Linked DNA regions of Homo sapiens: region 2 is linked to region 1. Evidence: promoter capture Hi-C in 16 types of primary human blood cells and fetal thymus (Javierre and others, 2016). All regions are on one chromosome and are shown on one strand. The core of a region is centred on a gene start or on the middle of the fragment in contact, and the rest is flanking DNA. Distances in the headings are between cores, read along the strand shown. Region 1 holds the start of TSLP (thymic stromal lymphopoietin). Region 2 holds the start of TMEM232 (transmembrane protein 232).

What was found. Contacts are between HindIII fragments. The CHiCAGO score rates a contact against its expected background, and 5 or more counts as called.
Region 2: a fragment that was not itself captured here is called in contact with the fragment with the promoter of TSLP in region 1 in 1 of 17 cell types (M2 macrophages); the score reaches 5.6 in M2 macrophages.

Annotation. Positions count from the first base shown.
Region 1 is chr5:111,067,259-111,074,152 of GRCh38, reverse strand. TSLP (thymic stromal lymphopoietin) reads right to left here and starts at 2,440. Exons shown (of 4, transcript NM_033035.5): 1 at 2,092-2,440; 2 at 1,221-1,265; 3 at 508-642. The coding sequence starts at 2,262. The HindIII fragment of the contact is 3,260 bases long and covers 2,081-5,340 here.
Region 2 is chr5:110,720,881-110,727,774 of GRCh38, reverse strand. It overlaps TMEM232 (transmembrane protein 232), which reads left to right and starts at 1,104. Exons shown (of 14, transcript NM_001039763.4): 1 at 1,104-1,148. The HindIII fragment of the contact is 1,392 bases long and covers 2,593-3,984 here.

The DNA of each region.
Region 1 (6,894 bases), core at 1,191-3,690:
AATTAAGCAAACATAGGATAGAGATTTTATGTATAATGTAATTATACATTTAGCAAATAAGCACACAATAATTAAGTGATAAGAACAAGAGGTGTTGCTCAAACTTTGGACTGGACAAGAATCTCTTAAGGAGCCCCATAATCTGAGATTTTAATGTTGAAGGTCTGGGTTGAGTACCTGGGAATTGGCATTTTTAGCAGCCATACTCTTATGCTCCAGCAATCAAAACATTCTGATATAGAAGTCTCACTCATCATAGCTTGAAACATTGCCCTAAGGTTTAGAACCATAATTCAGCCAAAACAGTATCAGAACCGTAGAAATAGGTGAGTTTGATTCCGGGTATCAACGTGGGTCTAACTGACATCCTACCACTTTTACCCGGCTCGTTTGCTCTTCGAAAGATAAAACCTAAATAAAAATAAGAGAACGACTTCTGCACCAAAGCCCCAGTTTAATTTGAGGTTAGCCCCAAGGTACAGCAAACGTCTGAGGCTTCGGGCTTACCTGAGTTTCCGAATAGCCTGGGCACCAGATAGCTAAGGCAGCCTTAGTTTTCATGGCGAACATTTCTTTGGCGAGCGACGCGCAGCCGGCGGTGGGATTGAAGGTTAGGCTCTGGATTTCAGTAAGGCAATGTGGCTGCTCATAGGCGGCAAAGTTTACGAGAAAAGGAGAAAACACCAGAGAGAGAAAGAGTTGGTGAGAATTGAGTGAAAGGGGAGGGGAGGAAGGTCAGGGAGGAGCGGGGAACACAAGTCGAGAGTCAGAGAGAAGAGGTCAGGGTTGAGTAGAGCAAGGAAGAACCAACCGCGGGGGAGCAGGGGCGTGGCGAGGGTGGCGGAGGGCACTCGTCGCGAAAAGACTGTCACCCACGCTCGCTCCTCCCAAGTCTCCAGGGGGCGGAGGCTGCCAAAATTCCGAGCCCGAGCGCGGAGGCGCCGGACCCCAGCAGGTGGTGCCCCTAACAACGTTCCCTCGTCCCAGTTCCCAATTTGCCTTTCCTCCGGATAGAGACTTCCTCTCCCTAAATTGGAACAGAAGTGTTGTCCCAAGCTAGGCGCAGCCCCGCTCTGACAGCCCAGATGTCCCCTTTCCCCCGGCGGCGGCGTCCCGGAGCCCAGGCACCTCTCGGAGTTCTGCACGTAGCAGGATACTCCCTCTCCAAAATGCCTGGCGTCTCCCTGGAGAAAGCCAGCAGCACTGAACTCTCTACTCACCCGATTGCTACAAGAGACGGTGTTGTTGAACTCGGTACTTTTGGTCTGGAAGAAAGAAAAATAGGACAAAGAGGGTAAAGACTTTTAAGTCCACAAGGAAAATCATCCCTCCACCCTTTGCTCCCAGGCTTTAAAGGTGCCCTGAAAACAGTTTCCACTCAGGTACCTTTTTCCTATGTCATTGACAAGGCAGTGAAATAGCCATTAGATAGTGCTGGTTAGTGCTTGAAACCACACCAAAAGGTTCAGGTCTCAGAGGGCGACCTCCCCCCTCCCTTCCCTCAAGCCATAACTGCACATAGCACTATGCTTGTGAGTAATAATGCCATCCTTTGGATGTCCGCATCTGTACTGTGGCCATTCATGAATGCAAACTCTGTCTAGAAATTAGGTTAATCAGGAAAATGATTACTACTGTATGTTAAAAAAAATTCCAAGTACACCATATTCTGTAATAAATAGCATCCTGAAACATCTAAAACACTGGAGAGACCTGGAGCACAGCATCAATCCTTAGAGTTTATCTCATGAGAATTATCTCTTTTACTCCTCTTTCTTAAGCTCTTACCTCCTGCTTTTTACAGCATAGTCAGAGTAACACTTTAGCAAAGGATAGACATCCTTTGACGCATAACGCGCTGTCTATCAATACCTGCTCCTCATCAGCATCTGCACACTTAGAATGTGCCAATTTCTAGATAATCATTTTAGATTAGATATTTGAATATCACTTGTAAGAATCCTTGACAAAATGTGGGGCCATGATTTTTTCTAAATTATTTTTCTTTCCTACAAAGTTAAATTGTAGAGTGTGTGTATGCCGACTCCTCTGATGAAAATACATTTGTTTTAAAAAAGCTTCTTCACTTACCCCACTCATATATGTAATCAGGTCTTTAGAAATAGTACTGAGATAGGCTGCTTTAATCTTCTCAAAGTCACAGTTAGTGAAGTCGTAAGTTAACACCAGCCCTACAAGTTGTAAGATGAAGATTTTCCTGAAAGAAACTGACAGAACATATAGTAAGGCAAAAGGGAACATACGTGGACACCCAATTCCACCCCAGTTTCACACTAAACTCTTCCCACCACGAGTGTAAGAGATCTGTAAGGCCTGCCTTAGGGGCCAGTGCTCAAGCACCAGGTTTTGCCTCTCATTGCCAGTCCACAGGAAGCCCTTATTCACCCATGCTGTTGCCTTAAGTTGGAGTCTCCCTGATGCTCCAGAGCTTTCTGGCTGCACTATATAACACCTAAACGCCTACGGGCTCTTTTCTCCTAGGCCAATGATTTTCTACCATGTCATTCTCTTCCTTTATAGAATTCTGAATTGATGATGTGAAAGGAAAAAAAAAAAGGAGTAGCTAAATCTATGGAATTTTAACATCAGTAAAGTCATCAGGAATTTCCCTCACCTTCCTCCTTTTTGCTTTGCCCTAAACACTTCATAAGTGTGAATGTCCTTTAAGAAACGGATACCAGTGTCTTTCTCCTACAGGGCATTTCCGTGACCAATCCTTTCTATTTGGGAGAAACACCTTCTGAAACCAGCAGCCACTGTAAGGATTTGGAGTCCTTGCATATGTCCCATGCATTCTGAACATCTTTGAGCATTTCCTGTGGCCACTTTCAACTAGTGCTTTCCCTTCTCCTTGGCTAGTAAGAAACTGTGCTTGCTTATGGGATGCTTTGGAGGGTGGGGTGCAGTCTCAGTCTTCGACAGCACTTCCATGTGAAAGCATTAAATGTGCAACCGTGACCAGAACCTTAGGGGCAGGAACGATAAGAGGTTGAAATAAGTGGGGAAAGATCTGATGTGGCTTGTTCTCAAAAACCCTACTTTTCAAATTTCCCATATCAATTTCAGGAAAAACGCCTACTCTTGGTGGCTAGGGGCACCTTAGGGGCTGAAGAGTCCTCTAGCACTTTCTAGCAGGTGTCAAGAACTTTTAAAACCACAAATTCCAGCGCCCAGCCACCTTCACAGTCCCACTCTTAAGGCCAGCGACACAAGAAGCGGAGCCAGACCGCGCTGCTGGGTGCCCAGCGGCGACCGCACGGAGACGATGCTGTCCTGAGCTCAGCTCTCCCGGAGGCGGCGCACGCTTTAGTGCGCTCTGCCTCGCAGAGGCTTAGCCCCGCGCAGCGTAGACTGGAAAACGTCTGTCACCTGGGGCCTCAGCCCGGGCACCAGTTTTAGAGACAGGAGAAGCATCGAGATGGCGGGCTCAGATTTTTACTAGCAAACTCTTGTTGATCCAGAAAAGAGCGCTTAAAAGCACAGCAAAGTGAGTCAGGGAGAGTGCCCTAGAGGATGTCTGTCTAGCAGTCTTCCCAGTTCCAGCAACACCAATGGAGGGTTGAAGGGAGGGAAAGGCCGACACCGATCAGGTTGCTGAGATGAACCCCCTGCTCCTCCCTGGCTTGGCTCATGCGGCCCTGGGCCCTCTCTACACCCAGGTCCCCTCTCTCTCTCTTTCCCTTCCGCTCCCCCGTCCATCGCACCCCTCACCCCCGCCCCCCGCCCTCGCGTGTCGGAGCCTGCATCGCTCTGGTCCTTGGGAAGTTCCTAGGAGTCATCGCTCGGAGAAAGGAGGTTGGACGCCGTGTGTGAGTCCCAGCAAATGTCACAGGCCATGCGGTGCCTGGGGAAAAGAGCAAGGAATGTCGAGGGATTCGGGAAAAGAGTAGGGGACAAACTGGAGCCAGAGTTGAACTCTTCTTCATAGAAGGCACTCGAGAGGGTCAGAAAACCTCTGATTCACCGCTGACTTCAAAAATGGCTCTTTTCTGGAATTCTTCATGTGTTGTACTCGAGTCACCACAGCATTCTTTGAAAAAAAAGTCCACTCTTCCCCCATCACCAACTTCTCAGGGTATTGTGGGATGATGCCAAAACCTGATTAATCTATTGTGACATCAGAGATTATTCTGGTCGGCAGCTGGACATTATTATATAGGCAGACAGGAGCTAAACTTAGATTTCTTCACTGGGCTGGGATAGCTCCAAGAGACAAAGGAAAGGGCATGGTGGCTGCTTCTGTCACCCTCACCTGACATGCCTTCCCCTCTAGTGGCTTGCTGTAGGGCCAGAGAGTGTGAGTGCCCACTAGAACCTTCGGCTTCATCTCTTGATTGCTGATGGGGGCAAGAACAACAGAAAGCAGCCTACACTGAGCTTCGACTTGCATTCTTCTGGAGGTATAACCAGGCTGCCTCCCTTTTTTTGTTTCCTCTTTTAAAAACCCCTTGTGTCTATGATCTATGTAGAGTCTTTGTTCAGATGAGGTAGGCAGGGTATCTCTTTCTAAGGCATCCCAGGTGTCTCTTTGTCTGTTAAAACATTGCTAAACACTTGTTCCTTTTGCCCCCAATTTCCTTATCTGTAATTATGTGACCTCTTAGATCACCTGGATTATATTACTTGTCTGCTCAAAAAGTTATGGCAAAACAACCTACTCAAGGTTGTTTTGAGATTACAATTATCCCTCCTGCGTTGGCTCCAAGCTGTCTTTCCAGCCCTATTTCCTTCATTTTCCTAGGCTTCCAGCAAACAGTATCTGAAGGTAATATGCTCTAAACATGCTCTGAGCTGTTTTCTTCCCAATCTGAGATGTTAGATTTTCATGTCTTGCCATGTTCATCTTATTTGATGTCTCCAAAAGTGGTCTCCTACCAGGATGTGACCTCATTATCCTGTAAGCCGTATCTATTTTGGACTTCTTTCTATGGCTTCTATAGATTACTTAACATTTCAATAATGTTTTTCAACCTTATCTCTCTATTAGATTGCGAGTTCTTTAAAAGTAGGTAATGTTTTATAGCAGTTCATTTGTTCACTATTTACCTTTCCAGTAGCATTTGAAGTGATTTGCAATAAATACATTGGTGTCAAAAGGTAAAAAAACAGTCAAGGTGAGACAAGAGAATGGAGCAAAGGAATAGGGCGGTTAGAATCAGGTGCAGGGAAGGCTATAGAAAAGCATTACTAAAAACTGGAGAATTATAACAATTGATCTCAAAAGTGAGTTTTGAGCTTCTAAACTGCCACTACAAGGGGTAGACTATGACAAGCTCTACCACACACAAATTCATCATGAAAGCCAGTTTTTCTTAAGCTTATGGTCATCATCATAACCACAATAGGGCTGTCTTCTGTACTACATGTAATAGATATTCAATGAATTCTCAATGTGCTTAAGCATATTAACCTTCTATGAAGATCATTGTCAGGAAGCAAATTCTTTTCCATTGAAAGAACCTCTCTATAAATACTTCTTTTTCTAGCTCTTTGCTGCTGTCTTCCTGGAATCTGCTTATGTCTCACCTGGGGCAACAATTCAGACCAGGGCCATCTGTGAAAATTCAGGGTGAGCTGAAAAGCTTCCTGTTTTCCTTCTCTTTTCATTTGTCCAAATGCTGAAGGAGTGAACAGTATCTGCATACGTAGTTTGGGAAATCCTAGGTTAGGTCAAGAATGGTGTGTCTTCCATATGGAAATAGAAGTGACATCATTTGTAACACTCTGTGATTACTCAGGAAGCTTAGGCAATACTCTTACCCATGTGAAGGACCAGAAAATGATCCATGACATAGCTCTTTTCTCCTACCCTCACTAAAAAGATAAATCATTCATTAATTTTCTTAATACTTTTATTTCTTGTTTTAATAATGCTTCTCACTGTTTCTTTCATTTCGTTATTGTTTCCCACTCCTTCTTTTATTCTCTTATTCTTTCCCTCCTTCTTTTTAAATTTATGTCTTTCCTCCTCTTCCTTGAATTGTCCTGAATATTTAAAGTAGCCTAGAACTCATGCAAAACTCAGTTTGGATTTGAAAAATAGTTGCCAAAAGGAGATTGGTATTTTTTTTTACCTTATTCAATAATATAATTATGGGATTTTAAAAAATGGAAGGGATATCAGAGAGGTTATTGATGAGATGGGGGAGATCTGTCTCTTTGGATTAAGAAAAGTCAATGACACAGCTTAAGCTTGGTAATAATTTAGAAAGGGTGTAATAATGGAGTTTCCCTAGCAGAAGGGTGTTCTTTGGTCTTGAAAGTAAAGTGTATTGCTCTGGACCCTCCAGGACACAAGTCATAAAATCATTCTACTTCTTGGTTTTCATATGCTCATATAAAAGAGAGTGTCACACTTTCAGAGGTGGACATTGTTTCTTTTTTTCATATTCTACCTTGTTTATAGCCAAGCATGGTATTTATGTAAGGAGAAGTGGCTAGTGTTCACCTCTGAAAGTGATATTTATTTTGCCTGTTTCCTTTGCATTTTATGTTTATGCTCATGCAGATTTGCTGTTGGTCTGAATCATTGATGTGGTTCACCAGACTCCATAGTTCCTCTAAGATCTCTTGGGAACATTTGTGGACCAGAAAGTAGGTGAAGGAGTTTCCTATGACAAATGTGAAAAACAACTTTTTTATTTCATTATATTCCCAGGCTGATGATACCTGCATAATCAGCCCATGGCTGTGAAATGTTCCCAGATCTTTTTGAATTGGAGAGTGAGGAGACTAAATATATTCATGTAAACCTCATGCTTACGTTCATTGCTCTGTGAAGAAACAGTCTTACTCCCAGCCGGTGGGGGTAAAACAAGTTCTTGCTTACTTTACTGTTTTTCTACAACATAACAGGACATGAATAGGGAGAAG
Region 2 (6,894 bases), core at 2,039-4,538, 350 kb after region 1:
ATTGTAATTTCTGTTTTAAACATAAAAATGCACTCAAAAAACAAAAAAACTTAATTCCGAATCGAAGTAGTTCAAGTTAAATTTTCTTTCAAAGTTCTAATTTTTAAAGGCAGGTCATTTCACAGGACAATCCCTGTATATTACGTTTTAGTATTTTTTTTTTCTTTAGATGGAATCTCGCTCTGTTTCCCAGGCTGGGGTGCAGTGGCATGATCTCGGCTCACTGCAACCTCCATCTCCTGGGTTCAAGCAATTCTCCTGCCTCAGCCTCCTGAGTAGCTGGGATTATAGGTGGGTGCCACCACGCCTGGCTAACTTTTGTATTTTTAGTAGAGACGGGTTTCACCATGTTAGCCAGGATGGTCTCGAACTCCTGACCTCGTGATCCGCCCACCTTGGCCTCCCAAAGTGCTGGGATAACAGGCATGAGCCACTGCGCCCGGCCTACGTATGAATTTAATCATAAATGCCCTTCCCCATTCTTCCATATAGTATTTTACACTGGTGAACCTTTGTAAAATATATACAGTTGCTCGTTAGTAGACATAGGAATTCTACAAGGATTTTTAAAGGACTTATATTAGATAATTCTATTGCATACTACCTTTAAAAAGAGGCGTTCTTTTGTGTTTAAATTCGCCCTCTGGTGTTTAGTACATAGCAGAACATTCTAGGTGCTTTGTTTACTCACTGACGGGTGCTGAGGACACTGACTGCTCCAAATTTTCTATGTAAAAGGAACTTACGAACGGCAATTTAATTTAAAGACATAGCTACTTTTGGTATGATAGGCGTGCTGGTTTGTTTTGGGGAAGCAGCATTAAGACACTGAGGAGACATTAAAGCACTGTGAAGCCGCTTCTTGCCGTGGCTTCTTGCAGGATATGCAAGTATGTACAATATTCGAAACAAATCATTACTATGTTCTTTAAAAACGAATAAAGGTCTTTCACACAACATTGCATTTATTCTTTAGAAATTGAACACAAATGTGGTGGAGACGGGACAGGGCAGGTGGAAATTCACTTATAAGTCCTGATTGGCTAAGCCCTGGTCACGAGACCGTAAAAGAGCAACGTCTGTCTCAGAGCGACTCCCACAGCGTCCTTAGCAACCAGCCTTGGTTCCCAGCGGCTCAGAGCGCAGCGGTGAGTGATTAAGAGGTCCTGCTTCAGATGATTTGGGAGCTCAGGTTATTGTCATATTCACCATCCTAGGGCAACTGAAAGACCCACAAAGATCCTCACAGGGGAATACTGAGCCTCCTTTCTCAGGGTGCCATAGCTTTGTTAGAAGAAACACTACTCGCAACCCCAGGCTGGGCCTGCTATCTGGGCCCCTCCTAAGAGTCTAAGCAGTCCATCCTGGAAAAGCCACCAGGTCGTTTGATAGGGGAAGCTTTTTTGTTGGGGAGAATAAAGGAGGTGGGAACTTTCTTATTGCTATGAATAGGGAAATTCATTTAATCTCCCCTGGACTCGCTTATCCTGGGGCAACCTTGAATTCAGAAGACCAGTCTTCACACATCCTCTGTGGTTGGTGAAATTGCACCTTTTTGATTTTTATTTATTTATTATTTATTTAGTATGAAGACTCTTGGACTTCAAAAGAGAAGGTTCAAAAATTTGGCGCTCTGTGTGTGTGTGTGTGTGTGTGTGTGTGTGTGAAAGAGAGAGGGGGGTATATTGGAGATGTGTAATAAAACAATTTTTAAAAGCCGTTAATCTTGAGAAAAATATCCAAGTTGTCTATTAGAAAAATTTCTAGGAGGGGATAAGACTGTAGTAAGAGTCTCTTATTTACCTTACCATCTTAACAGTATGTCTGAACAAATTCTATCATTTGGTTGGTCAAATAATTTGCTTCCTCAGGTTAGAGTCTAAATCTTATATTCTCTAATGCATGTTACCTTTCCAAAGTCTTGATATAATTTTAATATTATCTGTTTTTCAGAAATTGTCTTTTAAAGTATACAGTTTCAACCTCATTTTTATTGGAACTTTAAAAAAATACATGAAGAATTAATAGTAAAACTAAAAAAAGAAATCTGGGTCTGTGCCAGGTTGCAGATGAACTGCCAAGCACCCAGGCAGACTGCTGGAGCCATTTCATGAGCTGAAACATTTCTCTTTAAAGTATAAACATTCTTGGTTTGGGTAATCCACATACATACTTGATTGAAGGTAGCAGATTTTTATTTCACTAAGACCTATTCTGCATGGACCCTTATGATCTTAATGAGTAGTGCTATATTCTTGCTGAACGTCTGATTCATTATCAGAATCATTCATTGTTATGATAAATTTGATAAATGTTCCTGTCTTGAAGTTCATTGTCCATCCAGAGCTCCTGGTAAAGTGTCTGCTCACAAATGCTTAACATTTTCCAAAATGTGTCCTGTATGTAGTTCTAGGAGATGATGTTCTAAAGATTTCTTTAGTCAATAAATTTTAAAGTACTACATGTCACACTGCTACTCAGAGAGATGTAGAGTATATATGAGAATATTAACACTGAGAAATCTTAGTATATGCAAACCTACTTATTTTTGTCTAATCCAGTGGTTTCTCAAACATTTCACAACAGAAAGCTTTTCGAGGTAGTTTCATCCCAAGAAGCAGTATTTTACAGAATGTATTTTAGAAATTAATGTTCTAAACTATATATCACACTTTTTATTTTTGCTTATATTTCCATAAAACCAAATGAATTCATTTCTTTAAAATGTTTCCTGCTGATTCATTACAATACCAAAGAAAACAAATCTCTTTAAAAAATATACCACCTTAGTAAATTATTTTATTCCTATTACTTTCATTGCGTTTTCAACAGTAATATAATAAATCACTTGCTAAATCTATATCGACTTTAGGATTACTAGCTTCTTACTATAACATGGCAAGTTTTTTTGTTGAAACCATATTTTTAACATTATAATATTTATTATGTAGCAGGTGCTCTATACCTATCTGGTGAATGAATAAATAAAAGATAATTGATTTCTTTTTTAGAGTTCCTTTCTGCAGAAGACTAGTCATTTAACTATTTGGTGAATGAATAAATAAAAATAGTTGATTTATCTTTTAGGATGCCTTTCTGCAGAAGGCCAGTTAAATGATCTTAACAGTAGTCCACCAGAAAAATGATGAGAACCTAATCTCATGGCAGTGGCCGTGATCTAGGATTTGATTCCTGATTGTTTTGGGAAGTTATAGAGAGCATGGAATTGAGGATAACTCTGAAATTTCTAGCTTGTCAGTTTGAGTGATTATATTAACTGAGATTTATTAAAATAATACTGGATTAAGAGCAGTGTTTAGGGACCTGAAATGAGAAAATAACAGGTTAAGTTATACACAGTTTAGATGTTTCAAGTACTCGTCTTTGAGCTGGGTGCCCAGAATTCAGTTGGAAAACAAATCTAGAGCTCAAGAGAGGTCAAGATTGGAGGCAGCTGCTTGGGAGTCATTGTTCTACAGTGTGGTTTACAGTATAGGGATGGATGGCATCAACTCCAGAGAGGTGAGAATATGAAGAGAAGGGTATTCTGGCCACAGGACTGATGTGAATATCGAAAGATATAAAGTATGTGAAAGTACTTTGCAAACAATAAAGTCCCATGCAAGAGTTATTATTATTACATCCCAGAAGGCTTACTGAAGAAATAGGTTTGAACTAGGGTTTTCAGGAAGGTGTGAGATATCCTAGGATTGTATTTGATGGAATATAACAGAAACTCGTCTCCAACAACTTGACTGTGGTTCATCTCTAATGCCATAAATGTTCCAGGCTTCTGTCTTTGTGTCCCATCATCTTTGTATGTGGTTTTCATCTTCCTGGTCATCTCTTGATAGCAAGGTGACTGCTCTATCACCATTCTTATGTCTATCATCCAGGGAGGTAAAAGAAATTGGGAAGGGACAAGGAAGAAGGTACTGTGCCTCTATCATGAAAGTAAACTTTACCAACATCCCCTACTAAGCTTTAGCTAGAACTCATAGTTGCAAAGAAAGCTTCAGGAGAAATGTTTTTTAGCCAGAGACTTTGCTGCTCCAAACAAAATTAGGGTTGCTTTAATAAAACAATGGAAGAGTGAATATTGGATAGGAAGCTAGTGGTACCAAGAGATATAGCAGTCCCTAGGAGTATAGATGATAATGTATATAGGGAGAGTTGTGTAAACAGAAGTAATGCTTTGCTAATAGCTAACAGTCTATACAGATTTTGAGATTTTCAGGATACTCATTTAGAGTCTAATTTAAACATAATGGTACCCATGGATAATAATCTCAGTAGGCCCCCAAATATAAACAACTTGTGATCAATGTACTAGCCAAGAAGTAGCCATGATTTATTATATTTGAACTCTATTACATTGATACAAAAATATAATAGATATTTTGCCAAACAGGAAAGCACACAGCCCCACCTGTCTCTTACATTTGAGGTATGTTTCTGATTGAACACATAGACTTCAGGTTATGTGTCAACTGGTCTAATGCCTTAAAGGAATTTCAATTAAAAACAATAACCACTGCCAAAACTCACAAAGGAGAAAATAGATAATCTGAATAGACCTATAACTATTAAAGAAATGGAATCAATAATTAATAGCCTTCCAAAACAGAAAGTACCAGGCCCAGATAGGTTCACTGGTGAATTTTACCAAACATTTAAGGAAGAAATTATATCAATTATCTGCAAGTTTCTTTCAGAAGATAGAAGCAGAGGAAATACTTCCTAACTCATTCTTTCAGGCCAGCATTACCCTAATGCCAAAATAAGACAAGGACATTATAAGAAAAGAAAACTACAGACCAGTCTCTCTCATGAAAATATATCCAAATAGCCTCAACAAAATATTAGAAAATTGAATTCAACAGTAAATACAAAGAATTAACTCTGTGTCTACTTCTGCTCCTGGATTTGTTCACTTCCACTAACATACAGACAGATACACAAACAAGCATATAAAAAGTACTATGGCTGTGGTAGCCAGCCTCTAAGATGCTCCCAATAATCTTTGCCTCTTGACATTCACACCCTTTTGTAGCTCCTACTCACATTGAATCATGGCCCTTCTGTATGACCAATAAAATGTGGTGGCAGTAAAGTAATGATACAGGCTTTGCAAGGCTAGGTATAAAGGCATTTAAGCTTTCATCTTGGTTTCTTGGATTGTTCTCTCTGGGGGAAGCCAGCCTCCATGAGAGCACACAGGAAGCTCTGAGGAGACGTCCACATGAAGAGGAACTGAGGCCTGCTACAACAGCCAGTGTTTACTTGACAGCCGTGTAGTGAACAAACCACCCTGGAAGTGGATCCTACAATCCTAGTCAACTCTTTAGAGGACAGGACTGACTGAACTTAGATGACTAGCTGACTGACTGACTGAACCTGCAGCTGCCATTTGACTGCAACTTCATGAGAAACCATGAGCCAGTTATACCCAGCCATGCCACTAACAAATTCCTAACCCAGAGGAACTGTGAGAGATAATAAATGGCAGTGAGTTTTGGAGTGATTTGTTATACAAATTAGATAATTAATACAACAGCCAAGCCTTTTGTGAGTTTATTTTTCTAAAGATATAGGGGAAAAGGTGATTTCATTGTAAGAACTTTATTTCTGCCATGTCCTTTCTTCTCTCATTCTGTCTTCCATTTCCACCCTACCACATCTCTATCTTCTGCAGCCTCCCACTTAACCTCCAACCCCTGACAATGTTTTATGTGATATCAATAAAATACTGCCCTGGAATTCAGCACTCTAATGGTTTGGCTGCTGCAGAAATAATATTTTTATGTGTTTTAAGAAGTGATTCTAACTATCAGGGGCAGTGCCACCTGCTAGGCAACATAAATGCATGGATGTGCTTCTGCTTCTCTCCCATAGCTGCTTCTTCTAAGATTCCTTTTTCTAAGCCACCCTGGGATTCTGATGAATAAATTTATATTTTTCCTTCTTGTTTAAACTATGTCTTTCTTATTCGGATGTCTAATATACAAAACAGGTAAAAATGGAGCTGCTCTGGTCAGTCTAGGGAGGCAGACGCACCCCCTCTTACTTCCCAAACACTAACACACACAGATATATATATACACACACACACACACACATGATATGCAGACTCACACATCTCACACATATGATAGCTTATGAGTCATTTCTGTGGAGCATAGCTTGAAATTCAAAATTCTAGATCAGTATTTCTCAAGGCAGGAGAGGTTGTGATACTGTTATCTTGAGAACAACAGTTCTTACTTATGAGGTACTCTCTCGGAATTGAGGAATATATTTAGCAACCCTGGACCCTGGGCACTGAATGTCCGTTATCAGAACCCTAGACATTATGACAAACAGAAGCACATCCATGCATTTCTAGATGTTACCTAGAAGGTAGTATTGCCCATGATAGAACCACTTCTTAAAAGACGCACAAAAAGCTTGTTTCTGTAGCAGCCAGACTATTAGAAAGCTGAATGCCAGGGCTACATTTTATTGGTGTCACACAAAATCTATCAATGTTTGTTGTAATGTCATATATTTATATTGAGTGTAAAAGACTGCCCCATGAAACTGTTTATTATTTTTACATTCAGGAGGTTATTCATTACATTATATCCTATCTTCTTTATGATGGCTTTAGAAAAATTGTCTTATAACTTTACCGGGAATAACTTTTTCCCCTGCAACTAGTTTGTTTTTAAGCAGTAAATTGTGGCTTTCAGCATTATTTTAAGATGAATGTATACTATACCTTTAGCAAGTGAGTATATATGAATTTGTGGCATAGATTTTGTATGTTCATCTCACTATATCTCACTTTCTTACCCTATTTTGTTCTTACCTATTTTTTCCAGTTTAAAATTTAATTTTCTCTTATATTTATTT